Linked DNA regions of Homo sapiens: region 2 is linked to region 1. The links are contacts of gene promoters, found by promoter capture Hi-C in human tissues and cell types (Jung and others, 2019). All regions are on one chromosome and are shown on one strand. Each heading gives the region's core, a stretch centred on a gene start or on the middle of the fragment in contact. The rest is flanking DNA. Distances are from core to core; before and after follow the strand shown. Region 1 holds the start of LAMA3 (laminin subunit alpha 3). Region 2 overlaps LAMA3 (laminin subunit alpha 3).

Region 1 (6,334 bases), core at 2,282-4,781:
ACAAAAAAAAAAAAAAAAAAAAATAATAATAATAATAATAAAGAAAATTATCCAGGCATGGTGGCACATGCCTGTAGTCCCAGCTACTTGGGAGGCTGAGGTGAGAGGATCACTTGAGCACCACAGGTTGACACTGCTGTGAGCCATGATTATGCCACTGCACTCCAGCCTGGGAAACAGAGTGATACCTTGTCTCAAAAAAAAAAAATTATTTGTCTGCTTTCACACACACGCATACACACACACACACACATTCATATACAGTTCTTTTTTTTTTTTTTGAGACGGAGTTTCGCTCTTGTCACCCAGGCTGAAGTGCAGTGGTGCGATCTCAGCTCACTGCAACCTCTGCCTCCCGGGTTCAAGCGATTCTCCTGCCTCAGCCTCCCCAGTAGCTGAGATTACAGTCATGTGCCACCATGCTCGACTAATTTTTGTAGTTTTAGCAGAGACAGGGTTTCACCATGTTCGCCAGGCTGGTCTCGAACTCCTGACCTCTGGTGATTCACCCGCCTCACCTCCCAAAGTGTTGGGATTACAGGCGTAAGCCCCCACACCTGGCCACATTTCTTATGTTTAGTAGATATTTCAGTTCTGCAAAAATCCATAATAACAGCTTTAAGATATAATTTATATACCATAAATTCATAAAGTGCACCATTCAGTGGTTTTAGTATATTCACACAATTGGTGATGTGATAGTGGTGATGCATAGCGTGATGGTTATCATCACCACTATCTAATTCCAGAACATTTTTATCACTCCAAAAAGAAACCCCATAGCCAATAGCAGTCACTCCCCATACAATATGTGGTCTTTTTTGTCTGACTTCTTTCACCTACCATAACGTTTTCAAGGTTCTTCCATGTTGTAAGCATGGATCAGAACTTCATTTCTTTTTATGTGTGACAGATATTCCATTGTATGGATATACTACATTTTGTCTATCCATTCATCAGTTGGGGAACATTAGGTTGTATTCATTTTTTTATTATATGACTAACGCTGCTATAAACATTTATGTACAAGTTTTTGTGTGGATATATATTTTCAGTTCTCTTGAGTATGTTCTTAGGATTGGAATTGCCAGATCACATGGTCATGTTATGTTTAAGTTTTTGAGGAATTGCCAAAGTGTCTGCACCATTTTACATTCCCATCAGTAATCTGTGAGGGTTCCAACTTCTCCACATCCTCACAAATACTTGTTATTATCTATCTTTTTGATTATAACTATCCCAGTGTGTGTGAAGTAGTATCTCATTGTGGTTTTGGTTTGCATTTTCCTGATGGCTAATGATGTTGAGCGTCTTCCATGGTCATGCTTATCGACCATTTTTATATTTGCCCACTACTTTTTAAAAAATGGTTGAGTTGTAAGAGTTTATTCTGGATATGAATTTCTAATTAGATATATGGTTTGCAAATATTTTCTTCTATCTTGCGGATTGTCTTCTACTTTCTTTTTTTTTTTTTTTTTGAGATGGATTCTCAGTTTCCCAGGCTAGAGTGCAGTGGCACAATCTCAGCTCACTGCAACTTCTGCCTCCTGGGTTCAAGTGATTCTCCTGCCTCGGCCTCCCTAGTAGCTGGGATTTCAGGTGTGCACCACCATGCCCAGCTAATTTTTGTATTTTTAGTAGAAAATTTCATCATGTTGGCCAGGCTGGTCTTGAACTCCTAACCTCAGGCGATCAACCCATCTTGGCCTCCCAAAGTGCTGGGATTACAGGCATGAGCCACTGTGCCTGGCCATCTTTCGCTTTCTTGAGGGTGCCTTGGAAGCACAAAAGTTTTAAAATTTGGTAAGTTTCAATTTATCTTTGTGTGTGTGTGTGTGTGTGTTTTGAGACAGATTTTTGCTCTGTTGCCCAGGTTGGAGTGTAGTGCCATGATCTTGGCTCACTGCAACCTCCGCTTCCCGGGTTCAAGTGATTCTCCTGCCTTGGCCTCTGGAGTAGCTGGGATTACAGGCACATGCCACCATGCCTGGCTAAGTTTTGTATTTTTAGTAGATACAGGGTTTCACCATTTTCCCCAGGCTAGTCTTGAACTCCTGACCTCAGGTGATCCACCCACCTCGGCCTCCCAAAGTACTAGGATTACAGGCATGAGCCACCGTGCCCGGCCCAATTTATATTTTTCTTTTGTTGCTTGCGCTTTTGATATCATAGCTAAGACAGCATTGCTAATCCAAAGTCATGAAGATTTTCTCCTGTGTTTTTCCCTTAGAATTTTATAGTTTTAGCTTTATAGTTTAGCTCTCTAAATGTAAAATTTAGAGATCTTAAATCCATTTTGAGTTAATTTTTGCATATAGTATGAGGTGGGGATCCTACTAGATTATTTTGGGATGTCCAGTTTTCCCAGCAGCGTTTATTAAAAATATTATTCTTTTCCCATTGAATAGTCTTGGCACCCTGTTGAAAATCCAGTGACCATAAATGTAACGGTTTATTTCTGAGCTCTCAATTCTATTCCATTGATCTATGTTTATCGTTATGTCGGTACTACACTGTCTTGATTACTGTAGTTTTGTATTAAGTTTTAAAACTAGGAAGCGTGAGTCCACTGACTTCATTCTTTCTCAGAATCGTTTTGGATTTTCTAGGTCTCTTGCATTTCCACATGAATTTTAGGATCAGCTTGTCAATTTCTGAAAAAAAAAAAAGTCGGGATTTTGATCCCTATCAAAATCCATTGTGTTGAATTGTAGGTTGCTTTAGGAAATATTGCCATCTTCACAATATTGTCTCCTAATCCATGAACATGGGAGGCTTTTCCACTCATTTAGGTCTTTTAACATTTCTTTCAAAGAGGTTTTGCAATTTTTATTGTACAAATATTGCATTCCTCTAATTTCTTCGAGGGCCTATGTGGGTTCTGTTTTAGTAGGGTGTTCTGCATATAAGACCAAGCATCAGTCCGGGGTCGTGGGGGGAGGGGGTCTTCTCTGTTCTGAGGCCATCATGGCAGGTGGCGTACCTCACTCAATCTCTGTTAGCTTATTTGTAAAATTGAGCAGATTAGGCATCTAAAGGATTTCCTCTAAGGTTCCTTTCCAGGTTGGCAAATTACAACTTGCATTATTGGCTGTCTTTTAAATATGTACGTTCCACCACTCCCAGTTCCCTGGCTCAGCCTGTGGCTGCAGTGCCACAGGGATCCTAGGTGCACAGTGTTGAGGAGTTGACGACTCAACACTTGGCTGGGAAATCGAAATGTCTTTGATGTGAGTTCTGTAGGTAGTGGCAGTTTCCTCTGCTCTCAACCAAATTCGTTTACAAGCCTCCTTTACTCTTAGGTCACAGGTGGCTTTTCTGGCTTTGACCTGAGCGGTGAGTATCCAGAGAGGAGAACGATCTAATTAATTTCTGTCCTGGCGCCTGGAGGGTTCGAAGATCCCAGGCTCCCGTTCCCGCCGCCTGGGTGGGAGCCCGGGAACGCCTCTCCCATTCCCCGCCCGCGAAGTTTGCAGCGCGCCTCGCGCGGGAGAGACGCCGTCTGCTGGCGCGCGGCTGAGCGCTGTCAGTTCCTGATCCGGCTGGTGCCCGCTCCAGCCGCGGCAGGTTCCAGAGCTGAGAGGCCACCCCCACGCCGCGGGCTTCCAGCGCGTGGAGCAAGGGGAGCGGCCCCGGCGCCGCCCATATCCCCGGCTGCGCTAGTCCTGGCGCTGCAGGTCCGGGAGGCGCAGGCGGAGAGCGGCGGTGCCCCCGAGCCCCTCTGCGGACGGCTCAGGCGGGAGGACCCCGCGCGGCTGGATGGCGGCGGCCGCGCGGCCTCGGGGTCGGGCACTGGGGCCAGTACTGCCGCCGACGCCGCTGCTCCTGCTGGTACTGCGGGTGCTGCCAGCCTGCGGGGCGACCGCTCGGGATCCCGGGGCCGCGGCCGGGCTCAGCCTTCACCCGACTTACTTCAACCTGGCCGAGGCGGCGAGGATTTGGGCCACCGCCACCTGCGGGGAGAGGGGACCCGGCGAGGGGAGGCCCCAGCCCGAGCTCTACTGCAAGTTGGTCGGGGGCCCCACCGCCCCAGGCAGCGGCCACACCATCCAGGTGAGGGCCTCGGAGAGAGCCGGGGTGGGCGCGCCTTTTCCTTCCCGCGCCGGCCAGACACCCGGAGAAGGGATCGGGCCCTTTCCTCACGCGCGCTAGTGGCTCCGGGCGACTGGGAAGGGCAGCCCCCATCCCCGCGCGCGAGGGCCCACGACCCAGGAGCGATCTCGTGGAAGCACCGCACCGGCACCACCGGCCCGAGGCGAGGAGGGGGAGCACGCGAGGTGACATGAGGCTGTGGTCAGGTTCGGGCTGGTGGAGGGGAAAGTGTGAGGCTGCGCTCTAAGAGATGCAGGCGCCTCGGCCCTTCCCGCCTCCGTCACCCACGGAGCGTCCCGCCAGGCTTGAGTCCTCGAGGGTTCAGGGGCGCCTCCTGCCCCACCTCCCGGGCCTTATTCGGAGAAGTCGGTGGCAATTACCTTCTGTGGTGTATTTTAAGAGAGAATTTTTAGGTTATAACAGCGGTATCACTCTAATGTTACTGAAAAGATTCACTTCACTGCACTGCCTGAAGTGCCACCATCCAGTCATTGGGGGCGAATGAGACCTTAGGCGGACAGAGATAGAAAGGCTCTCAGAGATCCGAGCCTCACCGCGAACACCCGGGGCAAACGACATTGCGGTGCATGTTAAGCAGCATCTTGCAGTGCCTGGCCCTTACTCACAGGTCTCAGCCAGGCAAGAGTGCAGTGGTGCGATCACGGCTCACGGCAGCCTCGAACTCCTGGGCTCAAGGGATCCTCCCGCCTCAGCCTTGGGCGTAGCTGGGACTACAGGCGTGCCCCCCCGTGCCTGGCAATTTTTTTTTTTTTTTTTTGAGACAGAGTCTCGCACTGTCGCCGGGGCTGAAATGCAATGGTGCGATCTCGGCTCACTGCAACCTCAGGCCTGGCAATTATTTATTTATTTATTTATTTATTTATTTATTTATTTATTTATTTATTTTTCTGTAGAGACAGAGTCTGGCTATTTTGCCCAAGCTGGTCTCAAACTCTTAGCCTCAAGCTGTCCTTCTGTCTTGACCTCCCAAAGGGGCAGGAGAATTTGAATCCAGTCCTGACTTCAAATCCTGGACACTAAGCCCAAATTGCCTCCTTCTTCTGCAAAGTATTGTTGAGGAACAGGAAGTGGGAAGAGGGAGCGATTTTGGAGCTTGGGTTCTAAAAGAGCAAGGTTATCATTGGGTGTCTAGATTAGTGTTTTAGAAACTCTTTTGACCATGCACTTCCATAAATGACAAGTTGTTGAACATCTAGTGCCATATGTGCTTATTTACTTATAAACTACATGCATGTATTATATTGATATGTGTTGTGCATATTTTAAAACATGCAAAAACAGAAATCTAAAAGACAAAATAACAATGATGAAAATATTTTTACCATATTTATATATTATCTATATTATAAAACATGCAAGAAAAGAAACTAAAAATATAAAATAACAATGATGAAAATACTTTTAACAGTCCTCAAATAATTTTGCTTTCTCTATTTTATGATTGTGTGTTTATAAACACACAAATATGCAAATATAATTGTGTGTATAATTATTTTTGAGAAATTTAGTTTAGCTCTTATAACAATTCAGTTTTTAATTTAATTTTATTTTTGAGACAGGGTCTCACTCTATTACCCAGGCTGGAGTGCAGTGGTGCTATCTTGGCTCACTGCAACCTCCACCTCCCAGGCCCAGGTAATCCTCCCACTTCAGCCTGCCAAGTAGCTGGGACTATAGGCACATGCCACCATGCGTGGCTAATTTTTGTATCTTTTGTAGAGACAAGGTTTTGCCATGTTGGCCAGACTGGTCTTGAACCCCTGGGCTCAAGCGATCTGCCCACCTTGGCCTCCCAAAGTGCTGGGATTACAGGCATGAGCCACTGCACCCGGCCTGATTTTATGTTATACTTGATTTTAGTGGTTGTTATAGCTGAAAAGATACCTAAAAAAATATGTAGATTCAAATGGAAGAACTGCATTGACCAGTCACATAATTTACAGAGTTCAGTGCAAAGTGGAAATGTAGAACCCCTTGTTAAAAAATTATTTTAAATATCAAGATGGTGACAGCACAGCATTGAAGTAAGCGAGGGGCCCTTCGAAGTGAGAGGCCCCAAGTGACTGTACACGTCTTTTGCTGTCTAAGCTACTAAATCATGGTACTATAGCTCTAGCTCTGCCCCATCCTTCGGTTAGCCTAAAAATTTTTAGAAGTAGAAACTTGGCCGGTAATTGTTCACTTCCAAGTTGTATTCAGCATTCCTAGTAGAAAGGTA
Region 2 (6,334 bases), core at 2,303-4,802, 79 kb after region 1:
CCTTTTACTCAGTTAGATATTTAGGTAGCGTAATTAACTTTAAAATGTTTATTGTGGTAAAATAGACATAACATAAAATTTACCATTTTAACCATTTTTAAGTGTACATTTTAGCAGCATAATTAACTTTTATATTATATTGATAATCAATGGACAAGGAAAGAGTTCTGCTTCTTTTATGGTTTAGTGGCTGCTGCAGGACTGAACCCTCCCATGGAGGATTGGTCTCAATTGATTGTCTTTTCTCTTAAGAATGGGTCATATTTTAGGTGTTCATATGATAAACTATGGGCAAAATACAAAAGACAAATAAACAAATGACAAAACCACAAAAACCATGATCTGAAAGCACTGAAGAGTAAAAATAAGCAGGAAGATACTGGAGGGGAGCTGCAACTTGGCAAAACAGATCAGCATAGGGTGAGTTACATATTTTTATGACTTTTACCCAGAGGGGAGGCCAAAGTTGGTCCCATGTGGTCTGGCTAAAATTTCTCTAGAAATATGGAACCTTTGTCTTAAAGCTGTGTTCTCTGAGGAACCAGAGAGCAGAGCTTAGGACAACTCCAACTTGTGGAAAGTTGGTGGGGAGTCCAGGAAAAGAGAAGTCAAGAGCAGGGAAATCCCTAATTCTGTATATAAATTCTTCTCAAGTTTCTGACTGACCCCTCAGTCCGTTTTCCATACAATCCAAGCACAGGATGGATTTCATCTGAGACTGAAATAACTTACTTGACATTTTAGTTACCACTTAAGAGTCAGAATGTGCAGCTTGAGTAAAGTTAATTGTCTCATAAAGAAAAAAAACCATTTTTTAGAGGAATGCTAATGGATTTGGAATCCTTACAACACAATATTCACAATGTCTAGGCTACAACCCTAGATTTTGTAACATATGAAGATTCAAAAAAAGTGACCCATTCTTAAGAGAAAAGACAATCAATAGGGACCAATTCTGACATGCCCCAGATGTTGAAATTAGCAGTTAAGGATTTTAGAGCTGCTATTATAATTATGCTCAAGAGAATAGATTAAAATATAGTCACAATGAATGAAAAGATAATAAATATCAGTAGGGAAATAAAAACTGTAAAAGGATCAAAATGAAAATTCTATAACTAAAAAATGCAATATGTTAAATAAAAAATCCATTGGAGGGGCCGAATAGCAGAAAGGAGGTAATAGAAGAAAGAGTCAGTGAATTTGAAGATAGATTAGTAGAATTTATCTAGTCTGAAGAAGAGAAAGAAAAATATATATATTTCAAATGAACAGAGATTTGGGAACTGGTGAGACAATAGCTAAAGATGTAAGGAACATGTAATTGGACTCCCAGAAGCAGAGAAGAGACAATGAATCAGAAAAAAAAGTGAAGAAATAATAGTAGGAAATACCTCAAATTTTGCAATAGGCTAAGATTCAAAAAGCTTAATGAACCCTAACCTGGAGAAATACAAAGAAAATAATTCCTAGGCCTAGTGGAGTCAAACTGCTGAAATCCAAAGACAAAGTGAAAATCTTGAAAGTAGACAGAGAAAACATTACAACATAGTATGACTGTGGACTTTTTATTAGAAACTGGAGGTCACAGAAGGAATAGTATCTTTAAAGTGCTAAAAGAAAAAAGAACCATCATCCCAGAATTCCGTATTCAGTAAAAATATCCTTCAAGAATAAAAGCAAAAAGAAAATTGTTTGGTAGATAAAATAAAACTAAGAGAATTTATTGTCTAAGAGACCTACACTACAAGATATGCTAAAGGAAGTTCTTTAGGTTAAAGAGAGGTAATACGAGATGGAAACTCAGATCTTTAGGAAGAAATGAAGAGTATGGTATGTGTCTGGGCAAATATAAAGTACTATTTAAAAACAAATTCTTGGCTGGGCGTGGTGGCTCATGCCTGTAATCCCAGAACTTTGGGAGGCCGAGGTGGGCAGATCACCTGAGGTCAGGAGTTTGAGACCAGCCTGGCCACCATGGTGAAACCCTGCTTCTATTAAAACATACAAAAATTAGCCAGGCATGGTGGTGTGCACCTGTAATCCCAGATACTCGGGAGGCTGAGGCATGAGAATCACTTGAACCCAGGAGGCAGAGGTTGCAGTGAGCCAAGATCATGCCTCTACACTCCAGCTTGGGTGACAGAAAAAGACTGTCTCAAAGAAAAAAAAAATTCTTGGAAGTCCTAGCCAGAGCAATCAGTCAAGAGAAAGATATAGAAGACATTCAAATAGCAAAAGAAAAAGTCAAACTATCTCTCTTTGTTAATGATATGATTCTATACTTAGAAAACCTAAGGACTCTTCCAGAAGGCTTCTGGAACTGATAAACAACTTCAGTAAAGTTTCAGGATACAAAGATCAGTAGCATTTCTATGCACCAATAATGTTCAAGCTGAGAGCCAAATCAAGAACACAATCCCATTTACAGTAACTGCAAAAAACAAACAATAAAAAAAGCCCAAATCTAGGAATACATCTAACCAAGGAGGTGAAAGATCTCTACAAGGACAACTACAAAATACTGACTGAAAGAAATAATAGATGACAAAAACAAATGAAAAGACATTCCATGCTCATGGATTGGAAGAATTAGTAACATTACAGTGGCCATACTGCCCAAAGCAATCTACAGATTCAACGCTATTTCTATCTATGTCATTTTTGACAAAACTATAAAAAACTATTCTAAAATTCAGAAGAAACCAAAAAAAGAGCCCAAATAGCCAAAGCAGCCCTAGGCAAAAAGAACAAAGCCAGAGGCATAACATTACCTGACTTCAAACTATACAGAATACAGAACTCAAAAATAAAGCCACACACCTACAGCCATCTGATCTTCAACAAAGTTAACAAAAATAAGCAATGAGGAAAGGACTTTTTTTCTTTTTTCTTTCTTTTCTTTTTTTTTTTTTTTTTTAGACAGAGTCTTGCTCTGTCACCCAGGCTGGAGTGCAGTGGCACGATCTGGGCTTATTGCACTGCCTCCCGGGTTCCAGTAATTCTCCTGCCTCAGCCTCCCAAGTAGCTGGGACTACAGGTGTGTGCCATCATGCCTGGCTAATTTTTCATTATTAGTAGAAACAGAGTTTCACCATGTTGGCCAGGCTGGTCTCAAACTCCTGACCTCAGGTGACCCACCCGCTTCAGCCTCCCGAAGTGCTGGGATTACAGGTGTCAGCCACCGTGCCTGGCAAGGAAAGGTCTTTCTATTCAATAAATGGTGCTAAGATAGTTGTCTCTCCATGTGCAGAAAAATGAAACTGGACCCCTACCTTTCACCATATATTATACAATAATTAACTCAAGACGGACTAAAGATTTAAATGTAAGACCTCAAACTATAAGAATCCTAGAAGAAAACCTAGGAAACACCATTCTGGACATTGGCCTTCGGAAATAATTTATGGCTAAGTTCTCAAAAGCAATTTCAACAAAACAAAAAATTGACAAATGGGACCTAATTAAACTAAAGAGCTTCTATACTACAAAAAAAAAAAAAACTATCAGCAGAGTAAACAGACAGCCTACAGAGTGGGAGAAAATATTTGCAAACTGTGCACCTAACAAAGGTCTAATATTCGGAATATATGAGGAACTTAAATAGTTCAGCAAGCAAAAAACAAATAACTCCATTAAAAAATGGGCAAAAGACATGAACAGACACTTTGCAGAAGAAGACATACAAGTGGCCAACAAACGTATGAAAAAATGCTCCATATCACTAATCATCATAGAAATGCATGTCAAAACCACAATGAGATATCATCTCACACCAGCTAGAATGGCTATTATTAAAAAGTCAAAAAACAACAAATGCTGCTCAGGTTGCAGAGAAAAGAGAACACTTACTTATACATTGCTGGTGGGGATGTAAATTATTTTAGCCACTATGGAAAGCAGTTTGGAGATTTCTCAAAGAAAACAAAACTACCATTCAACCCAGTAATCCTATTAATTGGCATATATCCAAAAGAAATAAATTATTTCATCAAAAGGTCACATGCACTCATATGTTCATTGGAGCATTATTTACAATAACAAAGACATGGAATCAACCTTGGTGCCTATCAGTGGTGGATTGGATAAAGAAAATGTGGTATATATACATGATGGAATATTACACAGACATAAAAAAGAATGAAATCATACCCTTTGCAGCAGCATGGATGCAGCTGGAGGTCATTATCCTAAGCAAATTAATGCAAAACCGGAAAACCAAACGCCACACGTTCTCACTTTCAAGTGGGAGTTAAACATTGGGTACTCATGGACATAAAGGTGGAAACAATAGACACTGGGGACTACTAGAGGGGAGAGCGAAGAAGGGCGACAAGGGTCGAAAAACTAACTATTGGGTACTATGCTCAGTACCTGGGTGGCAGGATCAATCATACACCAAAGCTGAGCGCCATGCAATATATCCAGCTAACAAATCTGTACATGTACCCCCTGAATCTAAAATTAGAGTTGAATTTTTTTTTTGGAAAAAGAATTTTAGGAAACTACCTACCTTCCCAACCCCTCTTTATTTCCAAATCTCTGCCCTTTTATGGTAATACAATGATCTGTAATTATTTTCCTTTACTCAATCCCATTTGTAAATGTTTTAGAGGAGAGAATAAATAATGGAAAAGGAAAATAAAAGAATATTTTGTAAATAATACTTCAATATAGCTGGAAAAAATTAGAGTATGTAGGGCCGCTTACAACAAAATTTATGACATTGTCTCATGGTATTTATAAAATGCATGTAAATATAATACATATGCAACAATAGCATAAAAAATAATACAATATTAACTCTAATTTGACTGTGAGACGTGAAGGATATATATTGTAGTCCCTAAAACAACTGCTGACAAAATAATGCAAAGAGGTACAGCTAAAAGGCCAATAGATACTTCTAAAGGTAATTTTAAAAACATTCAAATAATCCAAAAAATAGATAAATGAAGGAACAGGGGATGAAGTGCATGCATGTGCGCAAGCACACACACACACAAAACCACATACACACACACCAGACACAAAAGGAAGGGGCAAGCAGAAAATAGATACAAATAGTGGTAGACCCAAATCCAGCTCTATAAAAAATACTCTAAATGTTAATGGACTAAACACTCCAATTCAAAGGCAGAAGCAATAAGAATGAATAAAAAAGCAAGACTCAACTATATTGTTCACAAGTACTTACCTTTAAATATAAGGACAAGTTGAAAGTAAATGAATGGGAAAAAATATACTATGTAAACAATAAACATTAGAAGGATAGAGTAAAAATATCAGGCAAAGTAAACTTTAAGACAAAGAGCATTAACACAAATAAAGACATTTCGTAATGCTAAGAGTAAATTCATCAGGGAGACAGTAATCATAAGTGTGTTTGCATCTAACAATAGAGCTTTAAAATACATGAAGCAAAATTTGACAGAATTAGAGGGAAAAATAGACAATTCTATGATCATAGTTGGAGATTTAAATACCATCCTATTGGCAATTTATAAAACTAGACAAAAACATCAACAATAACCATGAAAAATTGACAATTTAGATTTTATCAAAATTAAAAACTTCTGCTCAAAACAAAACATGCTATTAAGAAAATGAATAGGCAAGTTACAGACAGAAAATATTCACAAAACATAAACCTGACAAATGGTTGGTATCTGGGATATACAAAGAACTTCCACAGCTCAGTTATAAAAAAAAAAACCTCAAAAAAATTCAAAAGATTTGAATAGCTACTTGACAAAAGTAGATATATAAATGGCCAATAAATGTACATCAAAGAGCTTAACAAGGCCGGGTGCTGTGGCTCACGCCTGTAATCCCAGCACTTTGGGAGGCTGAGGCGGGCGGATCACGAGGTCAGGAGATTGAGACCATCCTGGCTAATACGGTGAAACCCTGACTCTACTAAAAATACCAAAAATTAGCCGGGCATGGTGGCGGGCGCCTGTAGTCCCAGCTACTCGGGAGGCTGAGGCAGGAGAATGGCGTGAACCCGGGAGGCAGAGGTTGCAGTGAGTCGAGATCGCGCCACTGCACTCCAGCCTGGGCGACAGAGCGAGACTCTGTCTCAAAAACAAAACAAAACAAAACAAAAAAAAGAGCTTAACATTATTAGTCATCAGAGAAATGCAAATTAAGATTACAATGACATACTACTACATACTCCCCAGGATTGCTATTTTTTCCTCAGCTTTAAAGGATGACTATTATTAAAAAGGCTGACAACATCAAATTTTGGTGAGAATGTGGAATAACCACACCTATTCATCATTGTTGATAACAATGCAGAATGGTACAACTACTTTGGGAAAACGGCCAT

The links. The method cuts DNA at HindIII sites, captures the fragments that hold promoters and counts their contacts. A contact is called where the count stands out against the background at its distance.
Region 2: a contact is called between a fragment that was not itself captured here and the fragment with the promoter of LAMA3 in region 1, in 2 of the 25 tissues and cell types used here (dorsolateral prefrontal cortex and lymphoblastoid cells).

What each region holds. Positions count from the first base shown.
Region 1 is chr18:23,685,922-23,692,255 of GRCh38, forward strand. It overlaps LAMA3 (laminin subunit alpha 3), which reads left to right and starts at 3,532. Exons shown (of 75, transcript NM_198129.4): 1 at 3,532-4,056. The coding sequence starts at 3,763. RefSeq lists an enhancer at 2,891-3,440. The HindIII fragment of the contact is 10,376 bases long and covers 1-6,334 here.
Region 2 is chr18:23,764,677-23,771,010 of GRCh38, forward strand. The region is part of intron 8 of LAMA3 (laminin subunit alpha 3); the gene reads left to right. Among named protein-coding and RNA genes, the nearest start is that of LAMA3, 78 kb to the left of the region's middle. The HindIII fragment of the contact is 6,883 bases long and covers 112-6,334 here.